4 separate regions of the Homo sapiens genome follow, and all the other regions are linked to region 2. The links are contacts of gene promoters, found by promoter capture Hi-C in blood cells and fetal thymus (Javierre and others, 2016). All regions are on one chromosome and are shown on one strand. The core of a region is centred on a gene start or on the middle of the fragment in contact, and the rest is flanking DNA. Distances in the headings are between cores, read along the strand shown. Region 1 has its middle 65 kb from the start of ADAM28. Region 2 holds the start of NKX3-1 (NK3 homeobox 1). Region 3 overlaps LOC107986931 (a long non-coding RNA gene). Region 4 overlaps ADAM7-AS1 (ADAM7, ADAMDEC1 and ADAM28 antisense RNA 1).

The links. The method cuts DNA at HindIII sites, captures the fragments that hold promoters and counts their contacts. A CHiCAGO score of 5 or more calls a contact.
Region 1: a fragment that was not itself captured here is called in contact with the fragment with the promoter of NKX3-1 in region 2 in 1 of 17 cell types (M1 macrophages); the score reaches 5.1 in M1 macrophages.
Region 3: a contact is called between a fragment that was not itself captured here and the fragment with the promoter of NKX3-1 in region 2, in 1 of 17 cell types (total B cells). The highest score is 6.0, in total B cells.
Region 4: a contact is called between a fragment that was not itself captured here and the fragment with the promoter of NKX3-1 in region 2, in 1 of 17 cell types (total B cells). The highest score is 5.4, in total B cells.

The regions. Positions count from the first base shown.
Region 1 is chr8:24,227,390-24,231,042 of GRCh38, forward strand. No RefSeq gene overlaps it. Among named protein-coding and RNA genes, the nearest start is that of ADAM28, 65 kb to the right of the region's middle. The HindIII fragment of the contact is 7,534 bases long and covers 1-3,653 here.
Region 2 is chr8:23,681,415-23,684,835 of GRCh38, forward strand. It overlaps NKX3-1 (NK3 homeobox 1), which reads right to left and starts at 1,524. Exons shown (of 2, transcript NM_006167.4): 1 at 1,190-1,524; 2 at 1-225. The coding sequence starts at 1,475. All of the region lies in intron 3 of LOC107986930 (a long non-coding RNA gene), which reads left to right. RefSeq lists silencers at 1,106-1,155, 1,196-1,705. The HindIII fragment of the contact is 16,626 bases long and covers 1-3,421 here.
Region 3 is chr8:24,197,217-24,200,650 of GRCh38, forward strand. The region is part of intron 2 of LOC107986931 (a long non-coding RNA gene); the gene reads left to right. Among named protein-coding and RNA genes, the nearest start is that of ADAM28, 95 kb to the right of the region's middle. The HindIII fragment of the contact is 2,308 bases long and covers 556-2,863 here.
Region 4 is chr8:24,422,377-24,426,011 of GRCh38, forward strand. The region is part of intron 1 of ADAM7-AS1 (ADAM7, ADAMDEC1 and ADAM28 antisense RNA 1); the gene reads right to left. Among named protein-coding and RNA genes, the nearest start is that of ADAM7, 17 kb to the right of the region's middle. The HindIII fragment of the contact is 2,792 bases long and covers 634-3,425 here.

The DNA of each region.
Region 1 (3,653 bases), core at 903-3,402, 550 kb after region 2:
TTTAGTAAGTAGTATTAACTCATACAATCACAAGGTCCCACAATAGGCCATCTGCAAGCTGAAGAGCAAGGAAGGCAGTCCGAGGCCCAAAGCTGAAGAACCTGGAGTCTGATGTTCGAGGGTAGGAAGCATCCAACACAGGAGAAAGATGTAGTGTAGGCTGGGAGGCTAGCCCAGTCTAGCCTTTTCATGGTTTTCTGCCTGCTTTTTATTCCATGGCAGCTCATTAGATGGTGCCCACCCAGATTAATTAAGGGTGGGTCTGCCTTCCCCAGCCCACTGACTCAAATGTTAATCTCTTTTGGCAACACCTTCACAGACACACTTAGGATCACTACTTTGCATCCTTCAATCCAATCAAGTTATCACCCAGTATTAACTATCACAAAACCCAAATCAATCACTGGAATTTCTCAAATTCAACAAAATGTGGAAGAGGGAAAGAAGTAAGAGAGAAAGAAACGTGTTTTGATTTGTTTCCATTTCAGGACATGCAGAGTCTCTGAAATGTGTATTTTCATAAAATGAAGATCAGCTAATTGCAAACGTATTCATCCCCTCACACGTTTGGACAAACCCTTTATATGACAGGTATTCATTAAGGTCATATGCATTATTAAGCAGGCCCTATTCAAGCACCATCTGCAATGTAAAGAAAATATATATATATTTATTGAAAACAGATGACCCTCGAGGGTGTAAACTTGCAAAGTCGCAGTCTCAAACATACCTATGAGTAAATGCCCACGTATTAATTTTGAAGTTAGAGACCGTGCTTCATACTTTGAAAAAACTCAAGACCTTGAATTTGTAGGAGAGACCCGAAATGACTCTAGAGGAAGACAGCATCTTAGTCGTGTATTACATACCAGTCTTTGCAAATGCTCTCACTGGAATCATTCACTATAGCAATATTATTCGTCGATGATTAAGCCACAGACCTAATTGTCTATTAATCAAATTATCTTTCTTAACGTTTCTCTACTAATTCACCTTGGCACATTTGTTTGTTTTTATTTACTCGTTTTGAGATGGAGTTTCACTCTTGTTGCCCAGGCTGAAGTGCATTGGTACAATCTTGGCTCACTGCAACCTCCACCTCCTGGTTTCAAGCGATTCTCCTGCCTTAGCCTCCTGAGTAGCTAGGATTACAGGTGCCTGCCACCATGCCCAGCTAATTTTTGTATTTTTAGTAGGGATGGGGTTTCACCACGTCAGCCAGGCTGGTCTTAAACTCCTGACTTCAGGTGATCTACCCGCATCGACCTCCCAAAGTGCTGGGAGGCACATTTATTTAACACATTAAACTCTGGAATAATATTTTCTTTAGCAGTACTAAAGTTTAGCTTTTTAAAGTTCAATTTGTTCTTTTTTAATTATTATTTTTTATTTTTTTCTTCTTTTTTTGATATGGAGTCTCGCTCTGTCGCCCAGGCTGGAGTGCAGTGGCGCGATCTGGGCTCACTGCAACGTCCACCTCCCGGGTTCAAGCGATTCTCCTGCCTGTTCTTTACTTTTGTTGTCATCTTGGACGAAGAAAAGATGAATGACTTACATTACAAATTTGAGTAGATTTGTTTAAGGATGTAGCTAAGATTTTTTTTAAAGCTATGTTGTTTTCATGATGTACTTTGCAAAATAATACATTCCACTTGACATCTTATAATTTGATTATATAATTTTTAAAATTTGGTTTTACTTCCTTCCTTGGCTCTGGGAGGAGTGTGATTTCTTTCCCTTGCAGAATGAATATTTCCATTTAATCTATTCGAGTTTGGGCCTCTGACTTCTCAGCTTATTGTTTCTAAGGAAATGTGCAGGAAACGTCACATATCAGCTTTTGAGAGTAAAAATAATGAATGGACGTTTGAAATGAGTAAGAATTAGTCTTACCCTCTGTCCCACCTAGGCCACGTGTTTGCCTTGTGCCTCATTTCCCACAACTGGAAGCTCCCAGCTGAATAATCATATCCCAACATGCTGAGTTAATTGAAGAAAGGTGCTATATAAACACGAGGTACCATTATTATGGTCATTTTCCCAGGCCTTGGGCTTCCCCACCCACTTCCTCTAAATTTACAATGAAATAAAAAACGTAGCCTCCAAGTGGATGCAGATTTGAGAGCAATGTCTTTGGCGCCCTCTCGTGGTCGCCTCTATGTAGAAATCACTTGGGTGATGGAGGCTTAGTTGAAGGCAGAAATTCCCTTCAAGCCCGTTTAGAGGGGAAAAGATACGGTAGAGGCACATAATTCCTTTACATCAGTATTTTTAAACAAAATTATCATGTATAAAAATATCAAGCAGTCTTCACTATATTTAAAAATAACATTAGCATGGCTTCTGAATGGGAAAGGTACAAGAAATATTTTTCTTGACAACCTAGTCACTCAACAAGTTGCTACTAGGGCAAATCTTTCTATCCTGAAACTAGAGGCTACGTTATGAATGCTGGAGAATATGTGGAAGTACTTAGCAACCAGGACCTCTAGTAATCAGCCAGTACTTTATAAATGCTTCTTGAATCTGTGTATTGTCTCAAATCCACCATGATCTAGCTGGGTGAGGTCAAACAAACCATTTGCACTGGCTGACCTACAATTTCTTCATTCCTAAAAACAAAGCATTGAACCAAATTGGTGGTTTCTAAAATTATCAATTGGTTTAATCAGCTGAGCCCCTTTTTATGGATGAAATATTCCACAGAATGCAAAAATACAAAATAAAATGAAAGACTGTGGAACCATTCCACCTCAGGCTGTGTTGAGGAAGCTGAGCTTGGCCAACTTAGATCTTCATTTCCCCCAAAGTCTCTTTGGAAGCCTGATACGACCCTAGAACTGCGTGGGACACAGTTCAAAAATCATTTTTACTAGTCATCTCTATTGTTTAAGCTCTAATTTTAAAACTGCCCTAAAATATTATTTTATTAGTTTGCTACTAGGTACTTAATTTTTTTCTTTTTTTCAGACAGAGTCTCCCCCTGTTGCTCAGGCTGGAGTGCAATGGCATGATCTCGGCTCACTGCAACCGCCGCCTGCCAGGTTCATGCAACTCTCCTGCCTCAGCCTCCCGAGTCGCTGGGATTACAGGCATGCACCACCACGCCTGGCTAATTTTTTGTATCTTTAGTAGAGATAGGGTTTTACCATGTCAGCCAGGCTTGTCTTGAACCCCTGACCTCGTTATCCACCCTCCTCAGCTTCCCAAAATGCTGGGATTACAGGCGTGAGCCACCGCGCTGGCCGGTACTTAAATTTTTAACCTTTCTATTGCTCTCTAGTATTTTTTTTTTTTACTTCAATCATTAGTGTGTGCACAGAGGTGGTGAGGTTAAATAAAAAGGCACTCCCAAGCCTCCCGTGTATCCTCATAATGCTTTTGACATTTCATGAGTCTACAAATACTTCTATTTAATCACACATACTCCTGAGTATCAGATACTCAACTTGATGCTGGATTTTAGCAGGACAAAGAAGCTGATTGAAGTGTAATCCAGTGGACAGAATGTTGAAGGCTAGAAAGTACTATCATATAATATAACTGGATAAGACCAAAAAATGTATATGAATGCTGACATTTATGTGACAAAGTAGTCTACATTTTATAGCTGTTCAGAGAAAAGGGAGAGCAGTATGTTTTGCAGGAATCAA
Region 2 (3,421 bases), core at 274-2,773:
ATATCTTCACTTGGGTCTCCGTGAGCTTGAGGTTCTTGGCCAGGTGGGCCCGTTCAGGGGCCGACAGGTACTTCTGATGGCTGAACTTCCTCTCCAACTCGATCACCTGAGTGTGGGAGAAGGCAGCTCGGGAGCGCTTCTGCGGCTGCTTAGGGGTTTGGGGAAGCCTTGGAAGGGCGCCTGAAGTGTTTTCAGAGTCCAACAGATAAGACCCCAAGTGCCTTTCTGGAAAGGAGAGTGGGGAAGGAGGGATGGGAAGACAAAAGTTACATGTTAGCAGGGAAGAGAACAGAATTCAATCCACCCTTATCTCTTTAGTGAGTGAACAAACAGCCCACTGTCATCGTGGATACATTTCACTTTTTTCACATGACTAAGGAGCTCTCCGGAGTGAAGAGTGAGTAAATATGTTTATTACGCATTCATTTGCTAAGAATCATCAAGAACCCAAAGTTAGAGACGTTTCGTGGTTGAACTTTCTCCCTACTGTCTAGTAGAATTATATGGGGATTCTGGATCTGTGTGCTGAGGAGAGGCGGGAGAGGGAGGCAGGGAAAATGCCGTGGAACAAGATACCCGGGAAGGCCAGACCAAAAGACATCCGGTGTTAGGATCCAGGTGGGCAAGAGAGGGCTTGTGCCACTGGAGACGCAGAGGCAGGCTCATTCTGGGCTTTAATTCCCTCTTCGCTAAACGAGGCGTTCGGTCGCCTCATCAGAAGTGACAGGAAAGAAAATAAGTGGACTCTCTCTCCTGGACACCGGAGGGAACCCCGAATATACCGCTTTACTGCCCACGGGATTGGGAAGCACACGGAGGCTTTGCTGGTCAACCCCTGCTTTGTCACTGTTAATAAGTTATTATTAGTTCTCATAACTACCGGGGGGCTGGCGCCGATCGCGGGTGGCGCGGGGCGGGATCCGCTCCTGGGACGGTGGAGGGCGGTGGCGCTGCAGTCGCGCCGGCTTCTGAGCCCCAGGGAGCGGAGGGCACGGAGCCGGGCGAGTCCTGCGGTGTCAGAATCCTGCGCCGCCCTGACGCTGGGGCTCAGGGTTCATTCCGGGGGCGCGCGCGTGGCTGCGGAGGCGGGAAGGTCCCTCTGCCTGTCGCCGCGGAGCCCCGCGTCCCTGCACCCCGAGCTCTGGGGGTCCGCCTTGGGCTGCCCCCCTTCCCCGGCCTCGCCGCTTACCTGGCTCGGTCTCTGCCAGCGTCTCGGCCTCCTCCGGCGCGGCGCGGGGCCCGGTGCTCAGCTGGTCGTTCTGCGCCCCGGCGCGGCTGCGTCCTCCCTCTGGCTCTGGCTCTGGCTCCGGCTCCGGGTCGCGCTGTCTCTGGCTGCTCGTGCGGCCGCCTTGCCGCTGCGCGCCGTCCCGCAGGATGTCCTGGATGAGGAAGGACGTGAGCGGCTTGGACGGGGTCGGCGGCGCGGCCCCCTCCGCTTTCGCCTCCCCGGGCCGCGGCTCCGGAACCCTGAGCATCCCGGCGGCCCCGCCTTGGCCTGAATGCACCCGCCCGGCCCGCACCGCTTTCACTTTCCGCCTCCCGGCTCGCTTATAGCCCAGGGGAGCGGGCCGCGCCGCCCTCCCATTGGCCGCGGGACGGGCCGCGCCGCGGATTGGCCGCCCTGAGCCCCAGGTGACCCCGCCGATCTGCGAGCCCTGAGCACTGCCCCGCTCCGCTCCTCCCTAGGGGATTCCTTCCCCAGTTCCCTCTCCTTCCCCAATTCCCTCTCCTTCCCCAATTTCCTCTCCTTCTCCAGCTCTCCTCCCTCCGCCCTGAGCCGTTTTCCCAGGCCAGGAGCGCACCCCAAAGCGGGGCTCCTCTGCCCCAACCCACCCGCAACAGAGAGAAGCTCCTGGGGATGGGACGATCAAGACAAACAGTCCAGTTAGCTCTTCAGGACCGTCAGAGCCAATTACAGGGGATGAGCACGCAGTCACTGCAGCCGCGCGGTACCGTGAGAGTTCTGGGTGCTCTCTCTCTCTGGGAGAGATGGTGCAAACTCAGATCTGCAATATCTACGACCTCAAAGAGGCATGACAAGTAGGTGCAGCCAGACCCCAGGCTGAAAGAAGGAAAACACCTTTGCCAAAGCCTTTTCCCGTTGCAGAAGTGGTTTTCTTTGGTGGTTCCTTTATCCGCAATAACCTGTTAACTTTCCTTCCTCCCCAGACACATGACATACCATCCTTTTGAAAAGTTTCCAGACGGATGGAAGGCGTTTTAGGCCAGGACAAATGCAAAAACTGCATTTAAAAAAGTAGTTCAAAAGAACATCAGCATACTCTTTTTGCAGATTACCAACTGTTAACATGTAACCCATTGGCTAAACAATGGGTTAGCCAGATTGGTCCAACCGGTACTGTGACTGGACTGGACGGTACCGTGACAACAGACGAAAGTGGAACAGAGATGATGGAAGTATTTTCTTTCCTTGTCTTTTCTCTTCTTTTTTTTACGGACAGGGTCTCCCTCTGCCGCCCAGGCTGGAGTGCAGTGATGCCATCATAACTCACTGCAGCCTCGATTTCCTGGATTCAAGTGATCCTCCTGCCTTGGCCTCTCAAAGTGCCAGGACTACAGGCATGAGTCTCAGTGTCAGGTCGATGATGGAAGTATTGAATTAATGTTAAATTTACTGAAATTGCACATTGTACTGTCAGTGTACAAGAGAATATTTTTAGGAAATAAACACTGAAGTAAGTAGGAGCAAAGGCACAAGATTTATGAAACTTACATCAAATGGTTCTGAAACAAGGATGCAGATTGATAGATCCCACGCCATAAAGCCGATGGGTTAAATGGTAACAGTTGGTAATCTGGAAAAAGGGTAGGCTGATGTTTTTTAGAACCATTTTTTTAATGCAACTTTTTTGTCTGTCCTGGTCTAAGACGGCTTCTATTCAACTGGCAACTTTTCAAAAGGATGGTATGTCATGTGTCTCTGGAGGAAGGAAAGTTAATAGGTTATTGCTGATAAAGCGACCGCCAAAGAAAACTACCTGTGCAACGGGAAAGACTTTGGCAAAGCTGGTTTTCTTCTCTCATCTTTTCAAAGTCTCTTTATATTAGAACATTCTTTAATGTTTTCTTTTGAATCATTGTAGATTCACAGGAAGTTGCAAAAATAATACCTCCAGTGTCCTCCAAAGACATCTATACAACTGTAGGACAATGTAGAAAACAGGAAATTTACGTTGGGACATTACAGTTAACTAGACTACAGACGTCATTTATTTATTTATTTAGAGATAGGGTCTTGCTCTGTTGCCCAGGCTGGAGTGCAGTGGAGAGATCATGGCTCACTGCAACTTCAACCTCCTGGGCTCAGGAGATTCTCCCACCTCAGCCTCCTGAATAGCTGGGACTACAGGTGTGTGCCACCCTGCCCAGTTAATTTTTGTAGTTTTTGTAAAGATAAGGT
Region 3 (3,434 bases), core at 460-2,959, 520 kb after region 2:
CACCTTGGGAACCTGTATCCGTAAAACCTTATAGTATGAAACAGAGCATATAACTATGCCCACAAGGGACTTGGAATCCATAACTAACTGCAACTTGGCTCTTGATTTATACTTCAATCCATGACAACATTAGGTGTATGGACAAAATCACTTTTTGCTGGGAAAGCCAGGGAAATGTGACAGTAATTTTAACTGACTTGTTTTGTAGTGATCTTAATCTAATTCATAATGTAATTGGTAATTGGTGTAATGCTGGTATAATTATAAGGTTAATTTAATGGATTTTTACTAAACCTATAACACTGATATTGATGACCAAATATATTGTCAGATTGAATTAAAATCTTTACAAGATTTTCTTCCAATAGAAGCTGATTGGGCAAAGGAGGAACTAGATTTATTAACAATGAATTAATCGTTCCATTGGATCAATCCATTGATACCCTTTATAAAGTTTACATTTTAGTGGCAGAGGGTTGTCAAATTGTTGTCAAGCTTGTGCATGACTATGAAGAAGTTTGCACTGGAATCTTCTAGAATCTTTGGCAAACTGAAAGCTTTCTTTACAGTTATACCCACACTTTTTGTTGATACAAATAAATAGTATTCTAGCAGTTGTTCTTTCTTTTTTTCTGTAAATAATATGAAAGATAGAGGGAAAGGAACACCCATCAGCAATTTGTACTTGCAATGCTTTGACCAAGAGTTAGAAGGCTGTTGGAATAGAGCTGACTTACAACTGTACTGGAAATATTCTGTTTTTAATCTTTGGGGATATTTAGACATTGGAAGTTTTTTACTCTTAAGGTCAGTGGCATTTATGATGTACTGTTTAGGGACCGAAACATCCTTGCCATATTCCAAGTTTACCTTCTTAACTTATGGTTAGGCAACAGGACTAACTGGTCTGATAAGCCTGGTTTGACTAAAAGAGCTACTGAGATTTTTTTGGAGTGCTCCCCTGGAGCCAAGGTTTTTTACACAGATGACAGTTCAAATCATGGACACACTAGGACACTGCCCAGTCCTAATATGCAGATGGAGCCCTGGGGAGTTCAAGCTATGGGATATCTCTGGAGACTTCCAATACCTGCTTGCATTCTCTTTCTCATGTATCCTTTAAAAGCCTCAAGTGAGTACATATTGAGTGGTGATATTTCTTTTGAAATATTCAAACTAGATATGTATATGCACACTGGACATGATGTTTTGTTGGAAAAGGTAGGAGTCACCAAAGCAGTTTCTTATAAGACACAAAAGATTTGGGGCTGCTTATGTTTAGACAGCAGGTATTATTCACTCATCAGAACCAGTAATGCCCAGGACCAAATGGGTTTAGGATCAGCCCAATAGCCTGCAAATCAGGTCAGTAGGGGAAAAAAAAAAAAAAAAAAAAAAAAAGGAAAATAAAATATAACCTCAGGGGAGTCCTGAGGCCTCTAATGAACCTGGTTTTTCAAATACTCATTTATTTAGAGTCTTCTATTAGTTGCTTTTGTATTCTGTTTGAAGTGTTAAGTTATAATTAGCAGGAGAAAAGAAGTAGAATGCTCTTAATCTCATCCATCATTGAAAGCCCCATGGAAATCTACTTTAAAACATAACTCAAATTGTGTGACTCTACTTACCCTCCAATGGATTGCAATTACACTTAGAATGAAATCTACCATTTTCCCATGGCTTCAAGGACTCTGCTGAATGGCTCCTGCCTACTTCTTCACTTATGATGGCTCCTTCCCTAGCTCTGTGCTCTCCTACCACAGTGGAATTCTTCCCGATCCCGGAAGATGCCAAGCTGATTTCCACATAGGGATTTTATACTTGCTATTCCTCTGCCTGAATATATATCTTTTTCCAGATACATAATCACATACCTGGCTTATTCCTTACAGTGGTAAAGGAATAGAACTGGAAGATAAATCCTCATCAAAACTATATATAATGTTAGATGCAGATGGACTAAAGGTCAAATTTTAATGGTAAACCATAAAGTTATACAATGTATTTCTGTCTAGAATTGATGAGCAACTCCTTGACATTCAGGATCAGGACATAAACTAAAATATTCTCTGCAACACTTAACTAAGATGCTATTTGAAAAAAAAAAACGTACATTAGGTACTTGGTATTTTATAACTTTAAAATAATTAACACTTGAGATTTGATAAAAACCTCAAATGCAGAAAGCATCAGGGCAAAATGTATTTACATAAAAATTAAAGATTTATCTTAAATATAGAACATTATGGAAAATTTAGACTGAGAGAAGATGTTTGCAATGTCTAAAATTGACAAGGGATTAATATATAAAAGTTATAAGAAACACTTGCAAATAAGAAGAAAAAGACATGAACCCTAATAGAAAATGGGTAAGAGGTTTGAACAGGAATTCACAGAATAGAAGATCTCAAAGAGATGCTCAATTGTATTAAAAATAAAAATAGAAACATCCATAATTATCACTTTATGTCTGTCAGAGGGTGATAAATTAGACAGTTGGTAGTGGGGAGTGTGGCTGTGGATATATTATGCCCTTTTCATGGAAGGGTGGTACAGCTTATTTTGCATAACCACCCAGCAATGTTTAGTCTAATTAAATCCATCTATTCCCCATGACCCACGGATCCTTCTCCAAGGCATATGATCCTAGAGAAACTCAAAAACATGCCCTCTGATACTCACTGCAGCAGTATTTGTGTTAGTGGGTAGTAGAAATGTAGAATGTCCATCACTGGAGAAGCCATTAGGTGTGTGTTGTAGGTAAACCCCATGGAGGATGAGTCTGAGTTAATAATAACACACTAGATATACACACAGAAACATGGATTGACCCTAAAAGCAGTGATGAAGGGCAAAACTAGGAAGCTTAACACAATCCTTAAAAAAATTAAATTTAAAATTCAAAATTACATGTCTACAAAACAGCAATGAATATAAGAACAAGTAAAAAAGGCTATACATCATTTAGAATAGTTGAGACATAGTGAGATATGAGAAAATTGAGTAAATGCACAAATAAATCAATGGATGAATCAAAAACAAGAAACCAGAAGAACAGGTTGTGCAGCTCAATGATGACAATGTTCCATTTACTGAAGACTATGATTACATTAGCTCTTTGTACCAAGGATTCCTCCTACCCACCAAAATACACACACACATGCACACATGCACACACGTGTGCTATCTCAAAGAAACAGCCAGTATTAGTCCCTTTACCTTCAAGATCAAGACAAAAATGAAGATTCTCTTCAACACTTAATATGCTATTTGAAAAGCAATACATTAGCTACTCAGTAATGTGACAGCTTGTAAGTGGGGTATTGTAATTTGGCCATATTCATTCTGGCCTATTTCATTTTTACTTGTTTTACAACTTAAAAATATAAGTAAACAAATATCATTGAATACCAATATAGAGCAAATACAGTCTT
Region 4 (3,635 bases), core at 780-3,279, 740 kb after region 2:
ACAGAGAAAAAGGGGTTCTTGAGTGGGTCTTCTGGTTCTATGGTGAAATGCATGGGGTTTTATAGATGGGCTTGAGGAGAGAGTGTCTGATTTACATAGAGCCGAAAAGATTGGTCGGGCCAGGTGTGCCACTCACATAGCACGAAGAAGCTGACCATCCTACCCTAATCTTTTATTATGAAGATGGGGTCTCTACCTGTCCATTACCATGTTGCCTTTTTTTTTTTTCTTTTTTCGCAGAGTCTCCTGCTTTGGCCCAGGCTGGAGTATGGTGGTGTGATCTTGGTTCACTGCAACCTCAGCCTCCCAGGTTGAATTGATTCTCCTGCCTCAGCCTCCCTAGTAGCTGGGATTACAGGCGCTTGCCACCACGCCCAGCCAATTTTTGTATTTTTAGTAGAGACAGGGTTTCACCACGTAGGCCAGGCTGGTCTCGAACTCCTGACCTCAGATGATCTGCCTGCCTGGGCCTCCCAGAGTACTGGGATTATAGGCGTGAGCCACCGCACCCAGCCTGCCTTTTTACTGTACACATGGCAACAAAGAAAACTGAAGAGGGAACCTCCATTTTGAACAGGCCTGCCCCCAGGTAGCCTTTTCCTATTGGCACAGTTGCCGGCATTCACCTATACAAGCTTCTAGCTTGCTTCTTTATGTCTACAGCTCAATTTTACAGGCTGCTGTTTGTTAGAAAAGACATTATTTGGAGGAGAAGACGCGGTTTGGTTTTTGGCCTCAGCAATAACACCACACATCTACAACCATCTGATCTTTGAAAAACCTGACAAAAACAAGTAATGGGGAAAGGATTCCCTATTTTATAAATGGTGTTGGGAAAACTGGCTAGCCATGTGCAGAAACCTGAAAAAAATCCCTTTCTTACACCTTATACAAAAATTAACTAAAGATTGATTAAAGACTTAAACATAAGACCTAAAACCATAAAAACCCTAGAAGAAAACCTAGGCAATACCATTCAGGACATAGGCATGGGCAAAGATTTCATGACTAAAACACCAAAAGCAAAGGTAACAGAAGCCAACATTGACAAATGGGATCTAATTAAACTAAAGAACTTCTGCACAGCAGAAGAAACTATCATCAGAGTGAACAGGCAACCTACAGAATGGGAGAACATTTTTGCAATCTATCCATCTGACAAAGGGCTAATATCCAGAATCTACAAAGAACTTAAACACATTTACAAGAAAATAACAACGCCATCAAAAAGTGGGCGAAGGATGTGAACAGACACTTCTCAAAAGAAGACATTTATGCGGCTAACAAACATATGAAAAAAGGCTAATCATCACTGGTCATTAGAGAAATGCAAATCAAAACCACAATGAGATACTATCTCATGCCAGTTAGAATGGTGATCATTAAAAAGTCAGGAAACAACAGATGCTGGATAGGATGCACAGAAATAGGAAGGCTTTTACACTGTTGGTGGGAGTGTAAATTAGTTCAACCATTGTGGAAGACAGTGTGGCGATTCCTCAAGGATCTAGAACTAGAAATACCATTTGACCCAGCAGTCCCATTACTAGTTATATACCCAAAGGATTATAAATCATTCTACTATAAAGACACATGCACACATATGTTTACTTCAGCACTGCTCACAATAGAAAAGACTTGGAACCAACCCAAATGCCTATGAATGACAGACTGGATAAAAAAATGTGGCACATACACCCCATGGAATACTATGCAGCCATCAAACAGAATGAGTTTATGTTCTTTACAGGGACATGCATGAAACTAGAAACTATCATTCTCAGCGTCATGCACCGGGGCCTGTGGCGGGGTGTGGGCCTGGGGGAGGGATAGCATTAGGAGAAATACCTAATGTAGGTGACAGGTTGATGGGTGTAGCAAACCACCATGGCACGTGTATACCTATGAAACAAACCTGCAAGTTCTGCACATGTACCCCAGAACTTAAAAGTATAATAAAAAAGATATTATTTGAGGATTGCTTTTTATTAAAAGGAAAACCAAGAACTCTTCCCCTTCCTATCTGCCTAAGTAAGTTATTTCTAGCTTCTGTATCAGTTTCTCTTTCATAATGATGAAATGTAGGGGTTTATTTTTGAATGTTATTCCAAACTTGTATTTCTAGGATAAACTCCACCTGCTCATGTTATATTATTCATTCATATATTGCTATATTTCATTTATTTATATTTTTAACTATTTTCTTGCTCTCTTCATAAGAGATAAGCCAACTATTTTTAAAAAATATTTTTGTATGGTTTTGGTAATAGGCTAATTCTGATCTCAAAATGTAATTGTGAATATTTTCTTTCATGCTCAAAATTTTAGAAGAGTTCATGTAAAATTCTTAAGATGCTGGCATGAATTTCACCAAGGAAGTTATCTGGGTCTTGAGTTTGCATTGTGGGAAGGTTTAAAACTACAAATTCCATTTTTCTAGTGGCTATATCTATTCAGATTTTCTATATCTTGATTAATTTGTTTTAACAACTTGAATCTCTTAAGGACTTTCCCCATTTCATGTAGATTTTAAATATTTGTTAGCATAAAGTGGTGCTGATCATAATCTCAAACACTTACCCAACGGTGTTGATATTCAATCACCAGTATTGTTTCTACCAAATTTGCGGTCTGTACATGAGGGTATGAGAAAATGCGTTTCACAAAACAACCTAGAAGCATGGCAGAGAAGGTAGGAAAGTTCAATAGGAAATGCTGACATCAATGCACATCAATTCATAGAAAAATTTCAGAAAGAACACAGCCACATAGAAAATGAATGTGAATGTATTTTCCAAAAGCTATGCCTTAAGAGAGAGGAAAAAAAGCAGATATTCATCATTATGCAAGACTTCAAAATACAGTTAATAATCATAAAAGTCAGTCAGTTCTTAGGAACTACTTATGTTCCTACCATAATCTGTGTCTGTAGTATACTTTTTCACATGTCCAATTTTTCTATTTAATTTTTCCCCTCTGTTTTAAATGGTCAGTGTTATTTTTTACAATTTGCTATGCTGTGTATTTCATTATTACACCATTTCCAACACTAAAGGTGTAAATTGTGTAAAGACTTTTAGAAAGTTTTTATATCTAAAATCTATCTAATCCACAGAAACATAAAAACATTTTCTCCATATTCCACAGAAATATAAAGGTAAGATCATAAAACCTATATTAACAAGAAAAATGGGTTAAAGTAGCACCAGGTAAAGTTCTTAAAATTCTCTTTTCTAGTAAACCCCATAGATCAACTAGTTTTCTAGTTAATTAATTCTCCCTGCAGGGTAAAACACATTCACATGTAGGCCTGCGCATGTACACATGTAGAAAACAAATGAAAAAAAAAATCCATTATTTTTACTAAAAAAAGTGACTATATCGTTTTATGTTTCTGTTTTACTTTCATCTAGGAAATTAAAATAAGCTTCACAGAATTAGAGAATCAAAATAGTTTGTTGTAAATTAGGAGGAAACATTCATTTGATTGACCTAAAATGTGCTCTCAGTAATTTTAGTCTTCAGATAAAGTACTTTTTCTCAGAGCATGCGGTTGAAGTCAGATTTCATTATTAGAAAAAGAGAATTTTAGAGCTACAAAAGAACTTCAATGTCTAACAACCTTAATGGATTTA